Linked DNA regions of Homo sapiens: regions 2, 3, 4, 5, 6 and 7 are each linked to region 1. The links are contacts of gene promoters, found by promoter capture Hi-C in blood cells and fetal thymus (Javierre and others, 2016). All regions are on one chromosome and are shown on one strand. The core of a region is centred on a gene start or on the middle of the fragment in contact, and the rest is flanking DNA. Distances in the headings are between cores, read along the strand shown.

Region 1 (3,775 bases), core at 542-3,041:
TTTTTTTTTCCCATTCCTATATCTTTGCCTCTTAAACTTGGGTAGGCTTTTGTTTAACAATAGCAAAGTAAAATCTTCTTCCTTAAGTCTTTATGATACTTCTCTAGCAAGCCTGGGATGTGACTGAGTTATTTTTACAATCTGCTGTTTGGTTTTCCTGTCATTTACTCCCTGCTCAGCAGAGCTCTTCTGCAGTGATCATTGCGCTTGTTTAGCAGGCAGGCTACATTCTACACACTTGCTTTTGCTGATCTCACCTTAGCATTTTGTGGTAACAAAGCTGTGTGCACAACCAAAGTTGTGCCTTTCTTACTCTGTAAGATGGGCTGCCTTCCTGCAGATGACTTTTGTTCTATGTTCCACTGTGTCTTGTTTGTGCCATTCTTAATTTACACGACAGAGATGCTGTCATCACCAATTAACATTAATCAAGGGCCCCCTGGATGCATGGCTGCATTGGGACTAATTTAATATGCTCTTTGTTCCAGATATCAGGTGGCTTCTTCAAATGATTTTTAAGTATCTCGATGATGATGAAGAACAAAGACATCAATCAGGATTCAGGAAGACAGCTTTTGCGGAAAATGCTTAAAGGGAAGCATCAAGGATTGGTGTTGATATTTGAAAGTTTAAGAGTGGTATACTTTTATTCAGTCAACACATGACAAATGTAAAAGGCACTCATTTGTTGTTCCTGGAAGAAGCCTGGCAGCATTCCATTCAGACATCTGCCCTTTCATCGTCCCACTTTTTACTTATTGCAGTCCTTTCAGTCTGAATATTTCCTCCTGACGCATCTTCTGCCGTCCGAAATGACTCCCTGCTCCCAGATCCTGTAGCCCTTATTATTGACACCTTTCATTTAGAAATTTAGCACATGTCACATTACACCATTATTGAATAAATAATGAATAAATAAATAAATAAAGATGTATGTCCTTCCCAAGTATATCAGAGAACTATCTGGACAATTTCTTTCTTTCCCAATTCTCAGAATCAGCAGTATTCTGTCAAGAAACATTTATCGACGATGATGGCAATAGTCGATTAAAATCAGATGAAGTTTTATTTTTAAAAAAAGGTTGAGCGGAGAGACAAGGCTGAAGGTTTGGAAGTTGAGACAACCATCTTCAATAAACGTTTTCTCATCTAAGGGCTGTATGTACATCATTTTGGGGAAGGTAGAGATTGAAGGAGGAAGAACATCACTGGAGGAAGAGACAGCAGTTTGTCTTTCGAGTTTCAATAAAGTTTCAAAAATCTTGCCTAAGTTATATATTTTTTTGGCCTTTCCCTTTTGATGTGACAATAAACTGTAATGCGGCTGTCGTTTGTACGAACCGATATTCAGCAGAATAAATCTGAGCACTTTCAGAAAAAGAAGCGTTCGGTTTTCTCATAGATGTTAGCATGAAGAACACACTTTGACCTTTGATGCTGTCAAGCACCTGGGCCAGCGAGGCTGGCGGCTGGCGAATTCCACCAGCAAGCAGACGCATTGCTGCGCAGGACCCGGCGAACCAGGGACCGGTCCACCCAACCCAGGAAGGCACCCCCGGGGTCCCGCCCAGCCCGGTTCCGGGAGCCTTATTGGCCGGCCTTCCGCCCGCCATCTCTATCAGCCCCAGGGATTTGGCAAGGGAGGTAGGCGGCTCCCTTTCGGCCACTCATTGGTCAAATCCTAATGGAGGTAAGGCACTCTGCGAGTCTCTATTGGTCCCTAGGCTCCAAAAAGGGCGGGGAAAAACAGACCGACAGGCCTCTAGGCGGGAAGCGCGGAGTGCGCCGGCGCGTAGTCGGGGACGCCGGGCCGAGGCTTTGCTAGGGAACACTGTTATCGCCCCGCCCCCTCGGAGCTTTTTCTCCAGTTAACTGTCGGAGTAGCGGGGGCTCCGGCGCCGGGCGACATGCCGGTGCGCTTCAAGGTGAGGCTGGGGTCCCCGGGCCGGAATGTGGCTGGGGGGAGCCATGGCCGGGGAGGTGTGGAGCGCCGAGGTCACGCTGCTTTTCTGCGCTGCAGCCCTCTGCCCGGCGGAAGCTGCCAGCCCCAGGGCCTGCTCGAGGGGCCCCAGAATCTGCCCGCCGCCTCTTAACCTAGTTCCCTCTCCGCTCACTCACATTTGCAAGCTGCAGTGTGTCGAAGAGTCAGATGGTGCGAGACACATTTACTTAGGGGGACTCAAGAGGAGTGGAGATGGGAGGAGGTCCCTTTGCGAAGAGAACTAAAGGCGACTTCAGATTGGGACACCTGTGGCCCATTTAGCTTAGCATTTAACCCCCATTACCTTTAAAACTTTAGTGTATGTGGCTTTTAAAGGCTTGAGAAATGGGTTCTTAGTAAAGACAGCGTATAAAGAAATACACGTTTTTCATCGTTGTGCATTCTTAGCGTATGTTAAAAGTTCCAGGTAGCTGGTAGCTGTCAGGGACTAGCACCCTGCAACTTCACAGGTGGCCACAGCGTCCCACATCTCCTGACTCATTTATCTTAAAGGCGTGTATTCAGAATGGAAGGGGAGTTTGCCTTTTGTTGACTTTATCAAATAGCAAAAGGTCCTAGGCATGGTACATAATATTGTGTACTCGGTGAAAACCTGCGATAAATCTAGAATGATGAGAATTTAGATTGTCATTAGTTATCCGACAAGAACTCATGCTTTGGAATCAGATAATCAGTGAAAGGGTAACCTCTGAGCCTGGAATTCCTGGTAGCATCTGCCTCAAGTGGTGTTGTGGATTAAAGGATATAACACGTGTGAACTGCTTAGCACAGGGCTGGGTGAATATTAGCTCTTATTAAGGAGCTCGTCTGTGTTTAATTTTCAGTCTTAAGTCTCTTTTGGGAGGTTCAGAAATTATTTTTCACCGATGTCTGCTTTAAAACATCATTCATTAATTGGACTGTACTCAAAAGTGTACTTTGCATTACAGGGGCTGAGTGAATACCAGAGGAACTTCCTGTGGAAAAAGTCTTATTTGTCCGAGTCTTGTAATTCCTCCGTGGGGCGAAAGTACCCATGGGCTGGACTTAGATCAGATCAATTAGGTAAGTTGAGCAGGCTAATAGCCATTCTAACCTGGGCTAAGTTTATAACTTGGGCCAAGCCGTTATAACTTGGGCTAAGTAAACCTTGGGCTAAGTTTACCAAATGATATATTAAAAGTTCAGTTGGCCTGGTTGATTTATTCATTTATTAATCAAGTATTTATTGAAGGTTTACTATGAGCCAGGACTATTCCCAGCAGCTAGTGTGGCAGGCCAGGTTTCACTAATGGAGGCCTCCATCACAACTGTTTCGGTACTGACTGAGCGGTTAAGTTAAATATTGAAAGCTAAAAAAAGCCAGTGCCCTTACACAAAGGCTGGGATGTCACAAAAGCCCATCAAGAGTATTGCCTAGGCCTTTCCTGGGCCATAAAGCATGACAAAATAAGGAATTCTTAACAGGATCCGTTTAGGATTAAACAAGTTTTACTGGGGGTCTGAAGAAACTCCCCAGGCCTCCACAAATTTATTGGCGGTCTGAAGGAACTCCTCAAACCTCCATGATTCAGCAGGAGACAAGATAAGGGTAATCAGCCCAGCACCTAGACCCATTTAGATTAAGTAAATTTACTGATGCTCCAGAAGAAGGTCTTCAGGACTCAGACCTTAGTTATAGATTAAAAGAAGTTAATCACTTATATCCTTAGATGAATGCACACTTACACGTAGACATATAGCTTAGAAGGTATATAAGCTCTGAAAAACTTTGTAATTTGGGGTTCGTCTGGT
Region 2 (3,775 bases), core at 919-3,418, 380 kb before region 1:
TTTTCCTTGCTGTGTTCCCACTGGCTTCTTTGTGCAAACACTTTACGTTCTCTGGGTCATTCCAGTTTGTTTTCCTGCTCAGAATAGTTATCCCCCAGATTTTTGCATGGCTGGCTGCCTTTATTTCATAAAAGTCTCTTACTACCTTAGAAAAGCCTTCTCTTCAATTTAAAGTAGGACTCCCTGTCGTATCTATCCATTAATTCTAATCCTTTTTTTTTTTTTTGAGGTGGAGTCTCGCTCTGTCACCCAGGCTGGAGTGCAGTGGAGCGATCTTGGCTCACTGCAAGCTCTGCCTCCCAGGTTCAAGCTCCTGTCATATCAGTATTTAAATACAGAATTCAGGATCTCCTACTTTAAAAACAATCTCCCTTCTGAGTTACTTTTATTTTATTTATTTATTTATTTTTTGAGACAGGGTCTCACTCTGTCACCCAGGCTGGAGTGCAGTGGCGCAATCTCGGCTCACTGCAACCTCTGCCTCCTGGGTTCAAGCGATTCTCCTGCCTCAGCCTCCCAAGTAGCTGGGACTACAGGCGCCCGCCACCACGCCTGGCTAATTTTTTGTATTTTTAGTAGAGATGGGTTTCACCGCATTAGCCAGGATGGTCTTGATCTCCTGACTTCGTGATCCGCCCGCCACCACGCCTGGCTAATTTTTTGTATTTTTAGTAGAGATGGGTTTTACCGCATTAGCCAGGATGGTCTTGATCTCCTGACTTCGTGATCCACCCGCCTCAGCCTCCCAAAGTGCTGGGATTACAGGTGTGAACCACAGCGCCGAGCCTCTAATTCATTTTTTTCCCCAAAGCTCGGAATACCCAACAGAATATACATTTGTCTCTTGGTATCCATAGGGGACCCTACTTGGATACCAAAATCCAAGGGTGCTCAGATCCTTTACATAAAATATTGTATTATTTGTATATAACCTACACATGTTCTCCCATATACTTTATATCATCTCGATTACTTAGAATACCTAATACAACGTAAATGTTATGCAAATAACTATTATACTATATTTTTAAATTTGTATTACTTTTTTTATCTTGTTATTTTTATTGTTTTATTCCAATTATTTCTTTTCTGTTTTTTTTTTTTTTTTTTAAGACGGCCTGCTCTGTCGCCCAGGCTGGAGTGCAATGGCATGAACTCGGCTCACTGCAACCTCCACCTCCTGGATTTCAGCGATTCTCCTGCCTCAGCCTCCCAAGTAGCTGGGATTACAGGTGTGCGTCACCAAACCCGGCTAATTTTTGTATTTTTAGCAGAGACAGGGTTTTACCATGTTGGTCAGGCTGGTCTGGAACTCCTGACCTCGTGATCCCCCACCTTGGCCTCCCAAAGTGCTGGGATTACAGGCGTGAGCCATCACACCCGGCTTGTTTTATTCCAATTATTTCTGATCTGCAGTTTGTTCAATCCATGGATGCGAAACCCACAAACTCAGAGGGCCAACTGTATATTTGCAAATCAGCTATCTAACTCTCTTAAACAATTATAAATTCCATAAAGGCAAAGCCTTTATTTGTTTTGCTCACACACCAAACAAAGTAGTGTGAACAAAGTAGTGTGAACAAAGTAAAAACTGAATAATACTTATTGAAAGATGAATGAACAATATCAACATTGAGTGACCTTAAGAATTAAAGTTTGGTAACTTACCAATATACTGATTTTGCATAAAACTCAATATTATCAGAAAATTCTCCAATTTCATCTTTGGCAATACTCTCTAACCAATCTACCACCAGCTAAGAAAGAAAGAAAAAAATAAATTAGTGTTAACTACCAAATCTATTTGTGTTTTATTTGTAGTGGTACTACTACCCTTAATTCAAACAGTTTCAGATTTTTTATTTTTTTTTTTGAGAAAGAGTCTCACTCTGTCGTGCAGGCTGGAGTGCAGTGGCATAATCTCGGCTCACTGCAAGCTCTGCCTCCTGGGTTCACGTCATTCTCCTGCCTCAGCCTCCCAAGTAGCTGGGACTACAGGCGCCCACCACCACACCCAGCTAATTTTTTTTTTATTTTTAGTAGAGACGGGGTTTCACTGTTAGCCAGATGGTCTCGATCTCCTGACCTCGAGATCTGCCTGCCCTGGCCTCCCAAAGTGCTGGGATTACAGGCGTGAAGTTTCTGATTTTAAAAATATCAAGTAACAATTTTTCCAAACACTATTTTTACTTTAAGATAAATAAATATTATGGCAAAAGAATAAAATTTTCTATAGGAATAATCGTTTTTAACAGGCTATTCCTGAAAATACTAGGGCTATTACTTAAAAATCAAAGAATAAGGTTTCTAATTCCTTTTAATTGCAAATAAAAAGATCAAGTAGAAAAAAAATTCAGAAAACAGTTTTAAGTTAAAAAACACTTCAGTACTTTGCATGTCATTAACCTTTTCTCCATGTTTCATAAAAAAAAATTTTAAATTCTAGTCATACCTGACTTTGTCGAACAAGTGAATCCCTCTGAAATAACGCTTCCACAACTGTTTTTTCACTGGCATTAACAGCCTATTATGAAAAATATTAAAAGGATAAACAGAATGAAAAGAAGATGCTGTTAAGAAATATTATTTTAATAGAAAGATAAAAAGCCAGTATGAAACAAGTACAGTTAATCATCTATACATAAACATTTTACCACATAGTAAATCTGTATATTCATCATTGAAAGGTATCTATTGTGTAAATTCCAAACTGCTACATCAATTGTAGCTGCTCTTACCTGGTATATTGATTCTTTACACTTGAAATTTAAAATTCCATTTTCCCAGAGATGGTGTTTTGGGGAAAAATAAACACAAAATAAAACAAACAAAAAACTTTAATAGGCCAGGCATGGTGGCTCACACCTGTAATCCCAGCACTTTGGGAGGCCGAGGCAGGCAGATCACTTGAGGTCAGGAGTTCGAGACCAGTCTGGCCAAAATGGTGAATCCACATCTCTACTAAAAATACAAAAATTAGCTGGGCGTGGTGACGCAAGCCTGTAATCCCAGCTACTCGGAGGCTAAGGCACGAGAATCACTTGAACCCACGAGGCAGAGGTTGCAGTGAGCTGAGATCACGCCACTGCACTCCAGCCTGGGTGACAGAGTGAGACTCCATCCCAAAATAAAAAAAAAAAAACTGTAATACAGGGCTGAATACAGCCCTGTTACATGTTAGAAACTAAACATTTAAAAACGTTAAAATCCTTTATAGTCTATATAGAAGTTGATAAGTAATAAAAGCTAAGAGCAATCCAAGGCTCTTACAACTGACTTTAAAAGACAATTTAATACAAATATTAGCAAGTAATACTAAGCAGTATATTAAAAGGATAATATATTGTGACCAGTTCAAGAATGGGTCAAATTAATTAATTAATCCATTTTATCCATGGGTTAAAGGAGAAAAGCTACATGGACTTCTTGACAGGTACCAGAATATTTCATAAAAATATCTTCATAAATTTTACCTTGCCATTTTGATGTAAAAAATATATATATCCTCATAAGTTAGACTAACTGAAACCTCTAGCAAACATATAGTCGTCCCTTGGTATCCATGGGGGATTGGCTCCAGGACCCCTCGTGGATACCAAAATCTGTGGATGTTCAAGGCCCTTATATAAAATGTTGTAGTATATTTTATTTAATTATTTATTTATTTTTTGAGACAGAGTCTTACTCTGTCATCCAGGCTGGAGTGCAGTGGGCCTGATCTCAGCTCATTGCAACCTCTGCCTCCTGGGCTCAAGTGATTCTCATGCCTCAGCCT
Region 3 (3,775 bases), core at 48-2,547, 320 kb after region 1:
TTTAAAGAGGCCTATACATTACTCAGCTTTGAAAAATGCTGAACAAAGGTCATCTCTACTTCAAATAGATAACTTCACTGATTGGACAGTGCCTTAATAGTGGTCCAGACTTCAGAACCACTCTGTAAATTAATCCTTTCAATGATACAGCATCAAGCTTATCAATGATGGTTTCACTTGCTTCAAATGATTAGCACCATAAAGCTTAGGTCCTATTCCAGAAGTGTTCATGGAGTCCCTTGGGTGTAGTGGTAAACATTCATATGTGGCAAAAGTTAAATCTAAAAATATCTGAAACACTCTGAATTAAAATCATCAGATTATTGTAAATATCAGCTTGAGATATCAACTATCAACACTTTCAATTTCTTAATTTTGGAAGTTGCTTTTATTTTATTTTTAAAACTCATCAATTATTCTTTCAGTGGGCTTCAAATATTTTAATACTGCAGCACTGAATTCTTAGCTCTGACCACAGTGAGTACTGCTTCCCTGGTGTATCTCTACACACTGGATGAGATGATGATAAAGCCTAGGGATTGGGGAGCCACCAGATGGAAAAAGACAAGATCTCGGAATGACTGCATGGAGGAGAGCTGCCCAGTTGCCCAGGAACTTTTATGAGAGCAAGAAACCAACTTCTGGTGTGTTAAAATTCTACCTTTAAAAACTGTTCCAGGCCAGGCACAATGACTCACGCCTATAATGCCAGCACTTTGGGAGACTGAGGTGGGTGGATCACGAGGCCAAGAGATCGAGACCACCCTGGCTAACACAGTGAAATCCCGTCTCTACTAAAAATACAAAAAATTAGCTGGGCGTGGTGGCGGGCGCCTGTAGTCCCAGCTACTCAGGAGGCTGAGGCAGGAGAATTGCTTGAACTGGGATGCAGAAGTTGCAGTGAGCCAAGATTGTGTCACTGCACTCCAGCCTGGGCAACAGAGCGAGACTGTCTCAAAAAACAAAACAAAACAAAAACAAAAAACTGTTCCAATGTAATAATTCAGCTGGGACAAAATATATATTCTGATACTGATGCATCTGAGTTCTTATCTCAAATAGCAGAACACCTTGATTCCTAGACAATACAGTTTAAGTAAAATATGTGTTACTATTAAGTGCCAGTTATGGTTCTAATTATTTTAAACATATTGTCTTATTTCAGTCTCACAAGAACCTTACAATGTAGGATGTTTTTAATCTTTACTTAAAAGATGAATAACTGAAGAAACCAAGGCACAAGGAGGGGAGATATTTTGCCTAAGATCACATAGCTGTCAAATGGCCAAGTTTGGAATTTAGATTATTTGGACTCAAAAGTTGTATTTTCAACTGTGAACTTTCAATCATGCACCAGTTGTACATAAAATCACATGGAGTGCTTGTAGCAGACACTCATCCTGTTCACTGAAATCTACTGCCTCTTCTTATTGGAACACCAGCTGGATGGTATTTCCCTTCCTCCCTTGTAGGTAGCTGTCACCCTGTGACTGAGATCTCCTTAACAGAATGAGAGGAAAAAAGAAAATTCATGCTACTTTCAGTCTGGTCCATTACAAGTTCCCATAGTGCTCCTCCATGCTGTTTCCCCTTCTACTTGGTGGATGCGGATGACTATGAAACCCTAGCATATGGGAGAGCCACTGATGGAAATAGTCTGGGTCACTGAATGACTGCATGTGGAGAAGCCTCCTACCAACCTCACCATGAGCCATCCTACGAACAAGAAATTAATTTCTATTGTGCTAATCTACTGACACCTTGGAATTTGATTCTTTCTAAAACTTACCTTAACTAATAAAGAGCTTTTTAAAAATTCAGTTTCCTGCTGTGAACTCCAGAACTCCTAGATTAGAATCTCTGGGATAAAGACTATGTATCTCTACATATTTTTTTTTTTTTTGAGATGGTGTCTCGTGCTGTCGCCCAGGCTGGAGTGCAGTGGCGTGGTCTTGGCTCACTGCAACCTCTGCCTCCTGGGTTCACGCCATTCTCCTGCCTCAGCCTCCCGAGTAGCTGGGACTACAGGCGCCCACCACCATGCCTGGTTAATTTTTTGCATTTTTAGTGGAGATGGGGTTTCACCGTGTTAGCCAGGATGGTCTCGATCTCCTGACCTCATGATCCGCCTGCCTCGGCCTCTCAAAGTGCTGGGATTACAGGCATGAGCCACTGCGCCTGGCTGTATCTCTAATTTTTAAAAGATCCCCCTTGCAATTCTGAGGTAGCTAGTCTTTAGCAGTATTGAACTTCATATCACAATTGACTTTTTCCTTTTCCTAGCTAAATTCTAGTTGGATATCTTAAGACAATGGTTTTCCATTTTTAGTTTGCCTGATTTTTTAAAGAAGCTATAGCTCAACAATTTATATTGCTTCAGAAGAAGCTTCACTTATTTATTTAAGATTCCATTTGACCCAGGGGATTCAAGATGTATCATCTCATCGTGAGGGCACCAAGTCATCTATTTCCTTCTTTCTTCCATCTCTCCCTTCCTCTGTCTTTCTCTATCTCTGCCTCCTATTCTTCTGTCTTTCTATCTATCTGTCATGGCTAAGTAGCCTTCCCAAAAGTATTTTCCTTCTATTTTATTGTGTAAATATAGAGGTTTTGCATTGTGCAATTCCTTGAAAATAACATGTGGCAATTACAACATGAGATTTCATCAGCTGTTCATGTATTATAGTGATTACTTTGAAACTGTGACTGATATTTGAATCTTAGGGGAGAGAGGGCATTAAGAAACTCTCAGGAATGATTAGGTCTCCACCAGCTATTTTTTCAGTTTAAAATTGAGATTGTATTTCTTGCATCATTTCATCCATTATTTATTTTTTCTGACTAAAATAGATTATTGAAACTCAACACAGTGATAAATTTGATCTCTTCAAATGCCTTGAGTGTTTATATTAGGATGACATTCTTAATTGTCAAGGGGGTATATGAAGAAAGTCTTTGATATATCTAGCTCCACTGACAATTAGTAGAGCTGCATCATATAAGGATAGTTAATGATTCATAGAGTGCTTACTGTGTGCCAGTTGCCCTTCTAGGGACTTTGCATAACTGAAGTCCTTTAATTCTCAAAATAATCCTATGAATGGAGTCCTGTGTTTATCTTCGTTTCATAATGTGGAAATGGAGGCATGGAAGCACAGGGGAACATGCCCAAGGTCACACAACAAGGAGGGGTGGTGTTGGGACATGAACCCATGTAGTCTGGCTTTAGGCTCTGTGCCTTTACTACACACACTGACTGTTTTTATAGATAAGCACTCTTCCATGTGATTTTAAAAAATCATTCTAAGGGTATATTCCTTTTCTATTGCTTTGTAACAAGTTATCACTATTTTAGAATCTTGAAACAACATGCTTTTATTATTTCACAGTTTCCATGGGTCAGGAGTCTAGGCTTGGCCTAACTGGGTCCTCAGGTCATGGTCTCACAAAGCTGCCGTCAAGGGATCAGCTGGGACTAGGGTCTCATGTGAGTTTCAAAGTCTTCTTCCAAGCACACATGCTTAATGGCAAAATTCATTTCCTTGCAGCTGCAGAACCAATGGCAGCCTGTTCTTTCAGTGCCAGCAGGAGAATCTCTTTCTGACTCAGTGAAATCCAAACCCTCTTTAAAAAGGCTTCCAGCTAATTAAGTCAGATCCAGCAAGTATAATCTTCCTTTTTGATGAACTTTTCAACTGATTTGAGGCCTTAATTATATTTGCCAAATCCCTTCACTTTCACCTATAATGTAACCTAATTATGGATGAAACACCCG
Region 4 (3,775 bases), core at 755-3,254, 310 kb before region 1:
CTACATTCCTAGAAAAAAACTAAAGAGTCAGTAAAGTGGTACAAAGGTAGCAACCAGAACAGATTTTAAAACTTCTGATCAAGAAATGACAGTTTTTTGGGTCATGGTTAACAAAGCTACTATAACTGATTTAAATGATTTTAATCAACTAATAACAATTTGCCTCAGAGGATATGCTTCTACAAACTAACCAACTAATGAGGGTTCCTTACTTCTGAAACTCAGGCAATCAAAAATGGCCTGTTAAACAGACACATCCCAAAGCCAACCAATCAACAACTGTCTTCACTTGAGTGACAGTGCTTCTATAGCTAACATTAACCTGCTCCTGTCTTTGAAAGTTTGCCAACCATGGAACTTCCTAATTCCCCAAAATCCTGTAAGACCAGCAGTCTAGCAAGGTTGGGGAAATTAAAAAAAAAAAAAAGGGAAAAAAAGAGCAGTGTATCTGACCAGGATAGCTTAGGTAATCAAGAACTCGGCCAGATGTGGTGGCTCATGTCTGTAATCCCAGCACTTTGGGAGGCTGAGGTGGGTGGATCACTTGAAATCAGGAGCTCAAGACCAGCCTGGCCAACATGGCAAAACCCTTTTTTGGGGGGGGGGGGGGGGGCGGGGAGTGGAGTGGGGGGCAGGGACAGGGCTTCACCATGTTGGCCAGGATGGTCTCGATCTCTTGACCTCATGATCCACCTGCCTCGGCCTCCCAAAGTGCTGGGATTACAGGCGTGAGCCACCACACCCGGCTTCAAAACCCTGTTTCTACAAAAAAAGACAAAAATTAGCTGGGTGTGGTGGTACACGCCTGTAATCACAGCTACTCGCAAAGCCGAGGCATGAGAATCGCTTGAACCTGGGAGGTGGAGGTTGCAGTGAGCTGAGATCACACCACTGGAGTCCAGCCTGGGCAACACAGTGAGATTCTGTCTCAAAAAGATTCAATAGGATACAAAATAAAAATTGATTTAAGGAAATTTTCAAAAGTATTCTGGCAAAGACCCAACAGTTAAAGTAAAGAGATGGCCTTTCTTTTTGTATATGGGTTCAGGTCTGAAATAGGAAACCTAAAATGGAAAATTGGTAATCCGAAAAAATCTACAATGGTTGAGATTTTCAGAGTCTTACAAACAAACTAGAAAAAACTAAATAAAAAGGTCTTTGTTTTCGAAGAAATGCAAGCCCACAGATGAGGCTACTTGTACAAACAGAGCCACAGGAGGAACTGATGTTGCATGTTCACTAACAAATGGAAGTACAATAACCCCAAATCTGTTCATTATTGCTGCTCCAAAGGAAATATGAGCATCCAATTCTCCACCCTTCCTCCACTGGGAGTGAGAGTGGGACTGACTACATATAGTCACAGGAAACCTTTTGGGGGTGATGGAAGTGTTCTAAAAACTAGTTGTAGTGGGCCGGGCGCAGTGGCCCACACCTGTAATCCTAGCACTTTGGGAGGCTGAGGCAGGCGGATCACAAGGTCAGGAGTTCAGCCTGGCCAATATGGTGAAACCCCGTTTCTACTAAAAGTACAAAAATTAGCTGGGCATGGTGGTGGGCACATGTAATCCCAGCTACTCGGGAGGCTAAGGCAGGAGAATCGAGTGAACCCGAGAAGTGGAGGTTGCAGTAAGCTGAGATCGTGCCACTGCACTCCAGCCCCGGTGAGACTGCAACACTCCATCTCAAAAAAAAAAACACACCAAAAACTGGTTGTAGTGATGGCTGCATAACTATATATTCACTAAAACCTCCAAACATAACACAACTGACCGAAACAACATAAAAACTACAATTTTAAAATACTGAATATAAAAACTATACATTTATCAGAGGTGATTTTTCTAAGAGACGTATGCCTTTCTTATTTCACAAAGGTGGCTGAGTTGGCTGTGGGAGCTACACTTCTTAGTGAGGTGACTGGGACTCTTTTTCCCAGCTGCTTCATTTATCCATGAATGAGCATTATTATTTGTTGCTAGAATGAGTCAGGTTCATCCATATTATTGTATCTATCAGTAACTTGCTCCTTTTATTTATTACTGTTGATTAAAATATACCACATGAATACATGATATTTTCTTTACCCATTCACACCAGCTGATTTCCAGTTTGGGGATATTATCAGGGTATTTCTGTTACCTTAAACAGCAAAACAAAACAAAAAAAACCCAACAGTACAATAGTCAAGATTTGAATCAGTATTTTTCAAATCTGTGCTTTCTACTACACCAGCCTTGAAAAGACTGAAAAACAGATTTTTATTGCGAATGCCAACTCTGACTGACTGGCAACAGCCATTATCCTGTTTTTAGGATGGTGTGGTTGCATCTAGTTTTGCAGAAAAGACAACTCTGTTCAATAAGCAACATAATTGGCTTGTGGTGCTGGTAGGGACTGGGAAAGAGCTGTAGCACCTGTTATTTGTATAGCGTATTTGTGATCTTTAGGCATAACCTTTCTGTTCAAGTGTTCTTTTCCTGAAGTCCTTAGCTCAGGTTAAGAATGAGCACTTTGAAATATGTCAATTCCCTAAAATTTCATGCACAATTAAAAATGGGAATAGTTACATCAGATTTTCAAAGACATTTGTGACAACTACTATTTGAGACATTGAGACTAATTGTTCTCTTTCACAGAACCCCATGGGGGGACAATTTTGACAGCACAGCATAGTGGCTAATGGTACCTAAGTTTCAAATTGTGGTTTTCTATAATCTTGGGCAAGTCACGAAACCTTTCAGAGCCTCACTTTCCTTCCAGGTAAAATTAAGATAGTAACAGCTACATGATAAGGTTGTGAGATGGATTACAAAGAATGTAAACTCCATGAGGATAGGGATTTTTTTTGTTTTACTCACTGCCATATTCCCAGAACCTGAAACTGTGCCTGAAATATGTGATCAATAAATTAAAGAAAGAATAAGGAAAGAAATGTAGTAATTCTTCAGAGTCACTGACACAACACCTTGCACATACTCGTCAACAAAAGATAAATTTCAGGCCAGGCGTGGTGGCTCACGCCTGTAATCCCAGCACTTTGGGAGGCCGAGGCGGTTGGATCACTGGACCAGCTGGACCAGGCTGGTCAGAAGTTCAAGACCAGCCTGGCCAACATGGCAAAGCCTCTACTAAAAATACAAAATTAGCCGGGTGTGGTGGCACATGCCTGTAATCCTACTTACTCGGAAGGCTGAGGCAGGAGAACTGCTTGAACCCAGGAGGTGGAGGTTGCAGTGAGCCCAGATCGCACCACTGCACTCCAGCCTGGGCGACACAGCAAGACTCCATCTCAAAAAAAAAAAAAAAAAAAAGTAACTTTTAAAATAAGAGTAACAATGGTTTGAGCTGCCACTCAGTACACTAAAGAGGACTGCTATTCCTTCAGTTGAGAATCACTGCTCGACTTTTTTTTTTGAGATGGAGTCTTGCTCTGTCACCCAGGCTGGAGTGCAGTGGCGCCATCTCGACTCACTGCAACCTCCGCCTCCCAGGTTCATGCCATTCTCCTGCCTCAGCCTCCTGAGTAGCTGGGACTACAGGTGCCCACCATCACGCCCAGCTAATTTTTTGTATTTTTTTAGTAGAGACGGGGTTTCACCGCGTTAGCCAGATTGGTCTCAATCTCCTGATCCGCCCGCCTTGGCCTCCCAAAGTGCTGGGATTACAGGCGTGAGCCACCGTGCCCGGCCCACTGTTCCACTCTTTAATCTACTAGCTCAAAAACATGTAAGAACCCTCCATGTCAATATAAAAAAGCAAAAACCTGTGCATA
Region 5 (3,775 bases), core at 453-2,952, 290 kb before region 1:
GACTGAGACTGGGGGGAAAGAGGTTATCCAAGATGGTTCTCTATGTCCAAAATTTAAAGATACCATCAAAAACGCCCTATAATATTTGCTGAACAGGTTGCAAAGTAACTACAACCACCACAGAAATATCCCTATTAGTTAGGGAAAATAACTACTTTCACATATTTCAAGCAAATACTATACTACATGCAGTTTATAAGCTGTTGGGTTAGAGGTATAAGAAATTGGAAGTGAGGAACTTTAGTGTTAGTAGATAAATCAAGGTAAGAACTCCAGAACAAAGCATACCCATTTTCATGAATGGAAGAATGCCATAAATATCTTCTCAATATAAATGCTTAAGTGGGGTGGTGCTTTTGCAAACCACCACCCTCCACAAGGATGGGTGAAGCTTTTTTAAAACATGATTTTACAGTCTGTTTCAACACAAGGCCGAATATAGAAATAAACAGAATTAGTGTCTTCCATGAGAGGAGAAACAAATGGCTCAGAAAAATATTTTATTTCATTTTGCTGTTAACCTCATAACCAGGATCAGGTGACAAGCTTAATATGACCACTCCTGAATACACCTGAAACTTTTTTTTTTTTTTTGAGACAGAGTCTCGCTCTATCGCCAGACTGGAGTGCAGCGGCACGATCTTGGCTCACTGCAACATCTGCCTCCTGGATTCAAGCAATTCTCTTGCCTCAGCCTCCCGAGTAGCTAGGACTACAGGTGCGCGCCACCACGCTCGGCTAATTTTTGTATTTTTAGTAGAGACGGGGAGGTTTCACCATGCTGGCCAGGATGGTATCGATCTCTCGACCTCATGATCCACCCGCCTCGGCCTCCCAAAGTGTTGGGATTACAGGCATGAGCCCCACACCCAGCCTCATCTGAAACTTTAAAAAAGAATGCCTTGATTTTAGATTGTGGGTTCGTAATCTGCATGATTATATTATACATTCAAAATGAAACTTAAGGACCAGAATATTCCTAATGGAAAATTCCCCAGTAAACCTGCCAGAAGTTCAGAGGAGAAAAATTAACCAAGTAACAAAACATAGTGGGAGCATAGGTACTTCCTGTAATTTTCTCTAATAATAATTTTAGTATCTCAACCTAAGCATTTATACTACCTGCTTACGCACGCACTGGCTTATGCAGCTAATTGTGTTATAAAGTTGTTTTTGACTAATTTAACAGTTCTTCCTTTTATAATCTACCCTCTTGAGTTTATTCAAAGATCCATTTAATATTCCATAAAATAAAGACCACTCAGAAAAATGAAAGGCACACCACACTTCACTGAAAGACATAAATAATGCTTACATTGGGCTTTCACATATGAATAAACACTTAATTACTTACTTGCATAATTACTAGGCCAGCAAGTACTTAAAGTAGCTCCAAAAAATGCCTATCATGGCAATTCTACAAGTGATAAGACGGTATCCAAAAAACATCACATGCATTATGTGTGCATCGTTGAACATTAGTATATACACCAAACAAATGGATAAAGGCAATGAGAACCAAAGTCTGGGTGGTTAACTAGGCTGTTAGAATAACCAGAGCATCTGAAGAACACATGGAAAGTGGGCAGTCACTTCCTGTAACCAATTCTGAGTTTCTAAGTAGCCTCTTCAGATACTTACTTCAATCCTTGTCACTATCAAATGGTTCCATCGAGGAGCTTTTGTTGTTGTTGTTGTTTGAGACGGAGTCTCACTCTGTCGCCTAGGCTGGAGTGCAGTGGCACGATCTCAGCTCACTGCAAGTTCTGCCTGCCAGGTTCCAGCGATTCTCCTGCTCAGCCTCCCGAGTAGCTGGGACTACAGGAACACACCACCATGCCTGGCTAATTTTCATATTTTTAGTAAAGATGGGGTTTCACCATGTTGGCCAGACTGGTCTCGAACTTCTGGCCTCAAGTGATCCGCCCGCCCTGGCCTCCCAAAGTGCTCTGCCTGCCTTGGCCTCCCAAAGTGCTGGGATTACAGACGTGAGCCACCGTGTCTGGTCTGAGGATTTTTAAATGAGGATTACATTAGTCCTATTTATAATATTCCTATTCTAATCTATTGTATTCTTACAATTAAATGTATCAAATAATTCTTAAAAACATTATTAGGAAACAAACTGCCTAATACCTTATAAGACTAAAAAAATCACCAAGATGAAACTGTAGTTATGAGCTCTCAATATTTAAACATTTAAAAAAATGTTAGTGTTTGTTAGGCACCAATCTTAACTATTTCCAAATTTAACTGGACTCTGCAATTATAGAATGAGGTGATTCTCCCATACCCTAAAGACTCATCACCCTCAGCACTGCATTCCATCCTGAGTCAGGGTCAAACAATTCCTTGGCAAAGAGGGTTTCTAAAGCTAATTGCTTCAAAGTAACATTTTCAGACCCTGGTATCTTCTCCAAACAGTAATGAATAAAGCCTTTTTAACTCATTTGAAACCAATTTCTTCTCTCTCTCTTTTTTTTTTTTTTTCCCTGAGATAGAGTCTCACTCTGTCGCCCAGGCTGGAATGCCATGGCGCAATCTCGGCTCACTGCAACCTCCGCCTCCTGGGTTCAAGCGATTCTCCCGCCTCAGCCTCCTGAGTAGCTGGGACTACTGGCGTGCGCCACCATGCCCGGCTAAGTTTTTGTATTTTTAGTAGAGATGGGTTTCACCGTGTTAGCCAGGATGGTCTCGATCTCCTGACCTCGTGATCCACCCACCTTGGCCTTCCAAAGTGCTGGGATTACAGGCGTGAGCCACTACACCCAGCCTGAAACCGACTTCTTATAGAAATTCTGAAATCCTAAAATCTCTGAAAACTCAAAGTTCTATAACTATGTTGGTGGCAAAGCTTAATCCTAATATATAATGGCAAAACTTCACCTGAGCACTGATGGGAGACTATTTTTATCTTTTATTTCTCTCACTTAATGTGACTATCCATGTTCCACATTAATATTGTGTTTGATTACTCTTACCAAAATCTAAAACAAATCTTTCCTCAAAATTCTGAAATCCAAAAATACCTGGCACCAAAGGTTATATATAGATAAGGGATTATGGCCCTATAATCAATTTTACAAACATCTACCAGGGCAAAACACTCTTGAATTTACTTCAATTTCTGTAGTTCTGTAGTACTGCTCACTGTAATTCACTGTTAATCTAAAACTCCTTTAATATGCAGATTCTACCTTATTTTTACTGTCTTTTCTAACTACTAGATCCTAAGGGTTTCACTTCTTCCTTTGACTCTAATAAGCACTCATTTATATCACTCATTTGGATATTCTGAACTGCTAACAGTTTTATACTGGTTAACTTTTCATGTCTTTGCTAAAAACCTTTTGTGCAAAATTACTCAATTTAATCCTAACATATAGTAACTAAGAACAATTAGCTTTCAATAACATGCAATCAGATCAAATAGTCCTCAAGAGACAGATGACCTAAATAAAAAATGAGGAATTATAGTTGGACATAGATATAAAACTTTAAAAATTAGTTTAAGGCTGGGTGTGGTGGCTCACGCCTGTAAATCCCAGCACTTTGGGAGTCTGAGGCAGGAAGATCCTTGAGCCCAGTAGTTCCAGACTAGCCTGGGCAAGATTATGAGACCAGGCCACTACCAAAAGAGTGAAGAAAAAAACCAGTTTAAGGAGTAGCTTATTATGGGAATTGATATGGACAAACCGTTACATACTTTATGTATTTTTCTAACTAAAATAATTCTCTTGAGCACTAGGCAGTTATTGGGCTAACCATTTGAGAT
Region 6 (3,775 bases), core at 698-3,197, 290 kb after region 1:
CCTGAAACCACAGTCTAAAATGGTCTTCTGATGTGTGGTTATAACACTTAATATACAGTGTTTGTCTCTTAGTAACTTTAGGTTTATCTTATTCAGCATCACATTATTTATCCTGTAAGGAAGTAAGCATATCTTCTCTGTTTCATAAGAAGATACCTTACTGTACAAAATGGTACTGTGGCCTAAAGTCACCCAATAAATATGGTGCAGGTTTGGAGTTGTTACTTAGAGTAGAATGCAACTCCTAAAATCTAAATATTTTTCAAAACCTGGATGAGATGTGCAGTGGAACCCTGTAAACACAATCTTTTTTTTGAGACGGAGTCTCGCTCTTTCGCCCAGGCCGGAGTGCAGTGGCGCTATCTCGGCTCACTGCAAGCTCCGCCTCCCGGGTTCACGCCATTCTCCTGCCTTAGCCTCCGGAGTAGCTGGGACTACAGGCGCCCGCCACCGCGCCCGGCTAATTTTTTATGTTTTTAGTTGATACGGGGTTTCACTGTGTTAGCCAGGATGGTCTCGATCTCCTGACCTCGTGATCTGCCCGCCTCGGCCTTCCAAAGTGCTGGGATTACAGGCAGGAGCCACCGCGCCCAGACAACACAATCTTAAACAGAAGCTTTATATGTAAACCACATAAAAGCTGCGCAAGTTGAATAGGAGGCAATAAATGAGGGAGGTGTGTGCTTGGGCCTCTAGAAAGACATAGGAAGCATATTTGAGAAATCTCTAGGGCTTGGCTTCAAAAACATTATTGTAAAGCATGTGTGCATCTAAGGTAACGGCGCTATAACTTGTAATAAAGATGGGAAGGAGAGAAGCTGCCAATCCCAAACTGATGGTCAATATTTGTGGATTCCAACATTCCCAGTTCCTTTATTTATTTCTGGACTATCTAGTTTTCTATGGCTCATCAAATAAAAATCAATATGCCCATATTTACACAAAGCCACCTTCATGCCCTCTTCCAGGAGGAACCAGAGAACTTGAGACTTCCCAGCTACAATTTCCAACCTTGCTCTTCTGGGTTTTCCATTCCATGTTGAGCACTCAGAGATTTTACTAGGTTTAAGCTTTCTTGCCTGGTGGGTGGGAGTAGGGAGGGGGGTGGAAATGAGGTGACCATTTATTGAGTATTTGCTCTGAGGCAGTGGTGGTGGGGTCGGGGGTTCCTTCCTGCTTATCAGAGCTGTGCACCTGCTCACTTGCCAGATGATATGCAAAAAAGAATCCAAAGAAGCAGCAAGAAAGCCAATACGTTTTCTTAGATCAAAATGACATATCCCAAAGCTCCTCTCTTTCCGATTATTTTTGATGAGAGCAAAATTATTATACTCAACTCCAGTGTGAATCTACATCACAGGGGGAGATTATTTTAGGTGAAAATTCCCTTATGATTAAATAGATGTTTGTGTGCTTATTTTTGTTGTTTTAAGAATCCTCCAGGATAATTCTGATGCAAACAGGCCTAAAGCCAGAAAGACTGACATACAGGTTTATTTGATAAATTGAAGTTTATTAAATACTATGACCATTATTTTCTGCATTAACCTTATAATATTGGTCACTTGTCTTCCTTTCAAGTTTAAAAACATTTTTTTAAACAGGCTTGAAACCTGCGGGGAAAACATATTATTGTGACATATCACATATCACAACATATCACATTGGCCCTGAGGATTAAACTGTTTCCAGATCCATCTGGTCTGACAGACATAAGTGATTGATTCTTGCTTGGTCTGTAACACACCCCAAATGCATTCACCTGCTATGCCATTGCCCCCTCTTCATTTTCTACTATGAGCTTTAAAAAACTGGAGTTATACATCTCATGGCTCTTAAACTAATGCATGGCTTGTTCCTGACTGCCTTCCAGCACTGGAAGAAAAAAGTAATATCTTTGTGACAGCATGATTACTTCCACCTGTGACAGCTCTTCTCCATTGTGAAATCTGCAAAGAAATCATCTGGAAGGGGAAAATACATGTGTTCTGGGATTAAAGACATAACAGGCATGTACTGAATGTGTCAAAAAATTTGAGATGTTGAGGGAGCTGAAGACAAGCCCTCTACATTGTAGATGTAGTACCATAAGGAATTTTCTAAAGAAGTCTTATGAAGCAATTGTTTTCAGTGGTTTACTACATTTATGAATCTTCAGCCCATCAGTGGAAAATATGATGCTCTGAGAGTCAGCCATGAAGCTGGGCTAGAGTGGGGTGCTAGTTTATCTTGAAAGATAGTTCTTTCAAGATGTATAATGCCCTGTTTCTCCCAGCTATTACATTTCACTTCATTTCTCTAGACCACAGGGTTCTAAGACACTTAGTCTAATTTAGAGGCAGTCTTTTGTTAAGACACCACTGAAGCATATAAAGTTCAGCCAGTGGGACCCAATTGGGTAGCTTTATAGAGAGAAGTCCAGATTTAGTTATCAATGTTAATAGGTAGGTCTTTTCATTAATGTCAGCCAACCAATGTACTACAACACATCATATTGTTTTTTAAAGGACACATCTAATTAGCATCATGATCAGACTATTACATTGAGCAGTCAACAGCATGGGTGCAAAGAAAAATTGACATTAAAACCCTTTATAGGCATGGTTTACACTTTCTACAGAACAGAAACTAAAATAAACTGTTGTACAATTGGTCACAACTACAGTCCTTGAGATTTTTGCCCATACACATGAATATTGTCAAAAACATGTCTTCTTTGTAGCAGCTAGGTCCTACCACGACTGTGCTTGGCTGAGTTAAAAAATCTGTTGTAACCTGTAGTTTCCTTGTCATGTTTCCAGCTGTCCTCTCCTGCTAAGCTTTGTCTCGTGACAGTAATTAAAATCTGGCTGGGCACAGTGGCTCATGCCTATAATCCTAGCACTTTGGGAGGCCAAGGCGGGTGGATCACGAGGTCAGGAGTTTGAGATCAGTCTGGCCAACATAGTGAAACCCCATCCCTACTAAAAATACAAAAAATTAGCTGGGTGTGGTGGTGGGCACCAGCTACTAGGGAGGCTGAGGCAGGAGAATTGTGTGAACCCAGGAGGCAGAGGTTGCAGTGAGCCGAGATCACGCCATTGCACTCCAGCCCGGGGGCAACAGTGCGAGACTCCGTCTCCAAACAACAACGACAAAAAAAAAAAAAAACAAAAACAAAAAACAGTAGCTACTGCTGTAGCTACTGTTGCTACTGGAACCACCATAGCCACCTTGGTTTCGTGGTTTGGCAAAGTATTGGCCTCCACCACCATAGGGGTCAGAGCTTCTGCCTTCAAAGTTTCCTGCCTTCATGGGTTCAAAATCTGAAGACTGATTGTTGTACTTGCCAAAATCATTGTATCTTCTACCACTTCTGCAATTGCTTCCACTACCACTGCCAAAGCCCCTTCTGCTTCCGTCGTTATAGCTGTCACAGAAGCCACTGCCCTTGTTTCTACAACCCTCTCCACCACTTCCATAGCCTTGGCTTTCTTCAGAGTAACCAGGGCCACCTCCTCCATAACCAGTGTCATTACCAAATCCATTATAGTCATCCTCACTGCCACCATATCCACTACTATCACAGCTGCCGCCAAAGCCACCATGACCACTGAAGTTTTCTCCATGACCAAAGTTGTCTATCCCACCAAAACTGCCTCCATGACCACCACCAAAGTTTCCAGAACAATTTTGGCTTCTTTGCCTGGATGAAGCACTAGCCACCTCTTGCTTTGACAGGGCTTTCCTAACTTCACAGTTGTGGCCATTCCCAATGTGGTATTTCTGAATGACA
Region 7 (3,775 bases), core at 475-2,974, 270 kb before region 1:
TGCCCAAAATGCTGGGATTACAGGTGTGAGCCACTGTGCTGATCATATTTCTTATCTTTATAAGAAACACAGTTTGGTGCTTTCCACATAATAGGCATTTAAGATATATTTGCTGAGTTTTCTTTTCCTAAGGTAGTGTGAAATGGCAGAGGGGGTGAGAATCAGAGTCCAGCTCTTATTATACTTATTAGCCTAGTGGTCTTGGAAAAATCCCATTATCATGTTGAATCTCAGTTTCCTCATCTATAACATGGGATGATAATATCTGCCTTACAGAACTGTTGTAAAATAGTGTGTAGAAAATAGCAATGTCTCAGTCTCTGGAACAAGAAGCAGCTCAAAGCAAGTTTTTCCCCTTTTAAAGAAAGTGAATTAATAGTGTCCTTAACTATTTAACCTGATAACAGTATTTCTAATTTTTCATATTATTTACTTCCTTAAAAGTTTTACTTTTTTTTTTTTTTGAGACAGAGTTTCACTCTTTCCCAGGCTGGAGTGCAGTGGCACAATCTTGGTTCACTGCAACCTCCGCCTCCCCGGGTTTAAGTGATTCTCCTGCCTCAGCCTCCCAAGTAGCTGGGATTACAAGCGTGCGCCACTACGCCTGGCTAATTTTTGTATTTTTGGTAGAGACAGGGTTTCACCATATTGGCCAGGCTGGTCTCAAACTCCTGACCTCAGGTGATCCGCCCACCTCAGCCTCCAGCCTCCCAAACTGTTGGGATTACAGGCATGAGCCACCGTGCCTGGCCAAAAGTTTTACTTTAAAGGAATAACATCTATGCTTCATTGGTTTCACTTTAAAAAGTCCATATGAGTAGCGGTCTTATTGCAAATCCAAAATTGGATTTTTAAAAGACCCAGATTTATAATTTTCCTAATTGACAGTTAATGATTATCAATGTAAACATTTAACTTCCAGTTTATCATGGTTATCAGTAACATTAATGTTCCTTAACATTAAACATTAGTATATTATTTCATTCACAAATTAACAATATTGAATTTGATCCTTTCACTTCCTTACTGGCTTTTCCCTCTGATGTGTGTGTGTGTGTATGCATGTATTATATAAATCTATGTATGTATATATAGTGTATGGTATATAAATACAGTTCTGTACCTTTGCAACACCCTGTGTGACTGGGTTGGGAAGTTGTAAAGAATAAGAAGACTGCTTATTAGATGCAAAAGAGAAAAAATACATGGCTTACATCTCTAGTTATTAGTTTGTAGACAGCTGCTTTAAAAAAAAAGAAAGCAAGAAAAAGAAAAAAATTACATCTTCAGTAGTTTCCTTCTATTTTCTTGGTCAAAGACTGCATTCCAAACTCAATGCAGTTATTTTATAAATTCTACCACTTAATCACACAGGAGACCAGGTAAGAGCATATTAGACCATTGCTATTATGAGAAAACACTCAGAACTCATACTCTCCTAGGGTAGTTTGTGTTCCTCTAAGATTTCTGTTTTGGGGAAACCATGCACTTATATATAAGAAAAATGAAGCAGCTTGGCATGTTTCTATTCTGTGTAATAACTGTAATAACTGCTTATTTGTCTCAAGATATATTTCAAATTCTGTCTATACTCAGTTTCAGCAGTTGTGGGCTTGACCACCAAACCTGCCTACACCACATTAAATAAATCTAACAGCCCTCTAATTTTGTCATTGCTAAGGTCTGTGATGTAAGGAACAGATTATACTTAAAATTTCCCCATCTCAAGTCTTAGCTGAGAAAAACCGTAAAAATGAAAATGGCATTACCAGAGCCATCATGTAAATGAGTGTTAAAAGCACAAAACTATTGGAAAAACCAACTTCATAAAATATACCCTATTATGAAATTTTCAAAAGAAATTTTAAATTAAGAAAATCTTCAAAAACCACATATACTTTCAGAATCTGGGCTGTCCCCAAATCAAACAGCTAATATGCCCAATATGCGCGAGTCAAGCATTTCTTGGGACTTTATTATTAGGATAGTATTTAGCTTCTGGTTCCAGTTATGGCCAAGTCCTGTGTATGAGTCACGTATCTCAGTAATAGTTATCAAATTCCAAGAGGTAGGTTTTAAAGACCCATTATAAAGATGAGAAAATTTCTTCTATTTTGTATTTATCTAAATCTTAGTCATTCTTCAAGACCCAGTGGTCCCTTCCTTCTCTGAATTTTCCAAATAATTGTTGTTTGTACCACTCCATTTGGTACTTATCATACATTGCCTTACTTAAGTTGCTTTTGTCTTCTTTCCATTCTGAGATCCTCAAAAACCGAAACTGTATCTTAAACTTCTTTGTACCTACTATACTGCCAGGCATTACAGATTAGAATCAAATGTAGGGGGAGGTCTTTCTAATCTTGGTTAGAGTCTCCAAATTAATCATAGTGGATTTACCTCTGGCAGTTATTTAGCCTTTGAAAGTTTCTCTTTATTAATCTTTATTCTTTTTTAAATTTCAAGACAGGGTGTTGCTCTGTCGGCCAGGAGTGCAGTGGCATGATCACAGCTAACTGCAGCCTCAAACTCCTCGGCTCAAGAAATCCTCCCACTTTAGCCTCCTGAGTAGCTGGACTACAGGCAGGCACTACTGTGCCCCACTAAATGTTTAAATTTTTTTTGTGGAGACAGGGGTCTCTCTATACTGCCCAGCCTGGTTTCAAACTCCTGGGCTTCAGTGATCCTCCTGCCTTGGCCTCCCAATATGTTGGGATTCGAGGCGTGAGCCACTATGCCTGGCCTTTTTATTAGTCTTTAAAATGCTCATAACAATGTTTATAATTTAGGCCTTTTAAAAGGATTTAAAATAGGTCACATGTCAAAATGGAAGTAATATAGAGTAGTGGTTAAGCGGACCAGCTCTGATGCCATACTCCACATGTCGAAATACAGGCTCTACTCATCCTGAGGAATTTACTTCGGGTACTTCAGTTTTCTCATTTGTAAAATGAGTACAATAATATAACCTATGTCATGGGTTATTGTGAGAATTAAATGAGTTCACAGTACAAATAGAATAGTGCTTACCACAGAGTAAGCACTCTATTAACTACTGGCTATCATCATCTAACGGATTATCAATATATGTTGCTTTCTGCTACTTCCTCTGGCACAATAATGCTTTGTGCAAACATAGTAAGAATTCAACAAATGTTTATTAAACTTTCACATTGCTTTGCTTATGACAGTTCTCAAAAATTGGTTGTGTTTGTCAGTAGTTTGCAATTTGAAGATATTTCTGCAATGGAAACAATGCTATAAAGTTTATACCATGAGTACGTTAACATGCTATTTGATTATTAGGGAAGCTCAAAAAAAGTCTATTTTAGGCCAAGTAATCCCAGCACTTTGGGAGGCCAAGCCAGGCAGATCACCTGAGGTCAGGAGTTTGAGACCAGCCTGGCCAACAAGGTGAAACCCCAACTCTACTAAAAATACAAAAAAATAGTCAGGTATGGTGGCGGGCACCTGTAATCCCAGCTACTTGGGAGGCTGAGGCAGGAGAATTGCTTGAACCCAGGAGGCAGAGGTTACAGTGAGCTGAGATTGTGCCACTGCACTCCAGCTTGGGTGACAATAGTGAAATTCCATCTTAAAAAAGAAAAGTTTTTTTGTTCCCTTAGTTTTTACAGCACCACATTCTCATGGTTTCCTCCTTTCTCTGACTGCTCCTTCTCAATTTCTCTTTGGCCTGTCCCTTCCTCTTCCTGTCCTTTAAGGGTTGCAGTCCCTCAGAATTTGATCCTGGAGTTTTTCCTTATATATTTCTGCT

Evidence for each region. Contacts are between HindIII fragments. The CHiCAGO score rates a contact against its expected background, and 5 or more counts as called.
Region 2: a fragment that was not itself captured here is called in contact with the fragment with the promoter of MDM1 in region 1 in 1 of 17 cell types (megakaryocytes); the score reaches 7.3 in megakaryocytes.
Region 3: a fragment that was not itself captured here is called in contact with the fragment with the promoter of MDM1 in region 1 in 1 of 17 cell types (activated CD4 T cells); the score reaches 5.1 in activated CD4 T cells.
Region 4: a contact is called between a fragment that was not itself captured here and the fragment with the promoter of MDM1 in region 1, in 14 of 17 cell types (megakaryocytes, M1 macrophages, M2 macrophages and 11 more). The highest score is 18.7, in megakaryocytes.
Region 5: a contact is called between a fragment that was not itself captured here and the fragment with the promoter of MDM1 in region 1, in 6 of 17 cell types (megakaryocytes, M1 macrophages, monocytes and 3 more). The highest score is 14.5, in megakaryocytes.
Region 6: a fragment that was not itself captured here is called in contact with the fragment with the promoter of MDM1 in region 1 in 2 of 17 cell types (activated CD4 T cells and naive CD8 T cells); the score reaches 8.0 in activated CD4 T cells.
Region 7: a fragment that was not itself captured here is called in contact with the fragment with the promoter of MDM1 in region 1 in 7 of 17 cell types (megakaryocytes, neutrophils, monocytes and 4 more); the score reaches 12.5 in megakaryocytes.

What each region holds. Positions count from the first base shown.
Region 1 is chr12:68,330,378-68,334,152 of GRCh38, reverse strand. It overlaps MDM1 (Mdm1 nuclear protein), which reads left to right and starts at 1,791. Exons shown (of 15, transcript NM_001354969.2): 1 at 1,791-1,925; 2 at 2,932-3,046. The coding sequence starts at 1,908. LOC105369819 (a long non-coding RNA gene) reads right to left here and starts at 1,522. Exons shown (of 3, transcript XR_945057.3): 1 at 1-1,522. RefSeq lists a silencer at 1,591-1,850 and an enhancer at 2,151-2,240. The HindIII fragment of the contact is 10,890 bases long and covers 1-3,775 here.
Region 2 is chr12:68,707,987-68,711,761 of GRCh38, reverse strand. NUP107 (nucleoporin 107) reads right to left here. Exons shown (of 28, transcript NM_020401.4): 9 at 2,453-2,524; 10 at 1,669-1,757. Among named protein-coding and RNA genes, the nearest start is that of NUP107, 23 kb to the right of the region's middle. The HindIII fragment of the contact is 6,708 bases long and covers 1-3,775 here.
Region 3 is chr12:68,006,544-68,010,318 of GRCh38, reverse strand. All of the region lies in intron 3 of IFNG-AS1 (IFNG regulatory antisense RNA 1), which reads right to left. Among named protein-coding and RNA genes, the nearest start is that of IFNG-AS1, 19 kb to the right of the region's middle. The HindIII fragment of the contact is 2,182 bases long and covers 207-2,388 here.
Region 4 is chr12:68,644,226-68,648,000 of GRCh38, reverse strand. All of the region lies in intron 1 of RAP1B (RAP1B, member of RAS oncogene family), which reads right to left. Among named protein-coding and RNA genes, the nearest start is that of SNORA70G, 19 kb to the right of the region's middle. RefSeq lists a silencer at 186-386. The HindIII fragment of the contact is 5,436 bases long and covers 1-3,775 here.
Region 5 is chr12:68,622,740-68,626,514 of GRCh38, reverse strand. All of the region lies in intron 1 of RAP1B (RAP1B, member of RAS oncogene family), which reads right to left. Among named protein-coding and RNA genes, the nearest start is that of SNORA70G, 2.7 kb to the left of the region's middle. The HindIII fragment of the contact is 2,308 bases long and covers 549-2,856 here.
Region 6 is chr12:68,036,240-68,040,014 of GRCh38, reverse strand. It overlaps the pseudogene HNRNPA1P70. Among named protein-coding and RNA genes, the nearest start is that of IFNG-AS1, 49 kb to the right of the region's middle. The HindIII fragment of the contact is 1,749 bases long and covers 1,073-2,821 here.
Region 7 is chr12:68,602,035-68,605,809 of GRCh38, reverse strand. No RefSeq gene overlaps it. Among named protein-coding and RNA genes, the nearest start is that of RAP1B, 7.0 kb to the left of the region's middle. The HindIII fragment of the contact is 4,363 bases long and covers 1-3,775 here.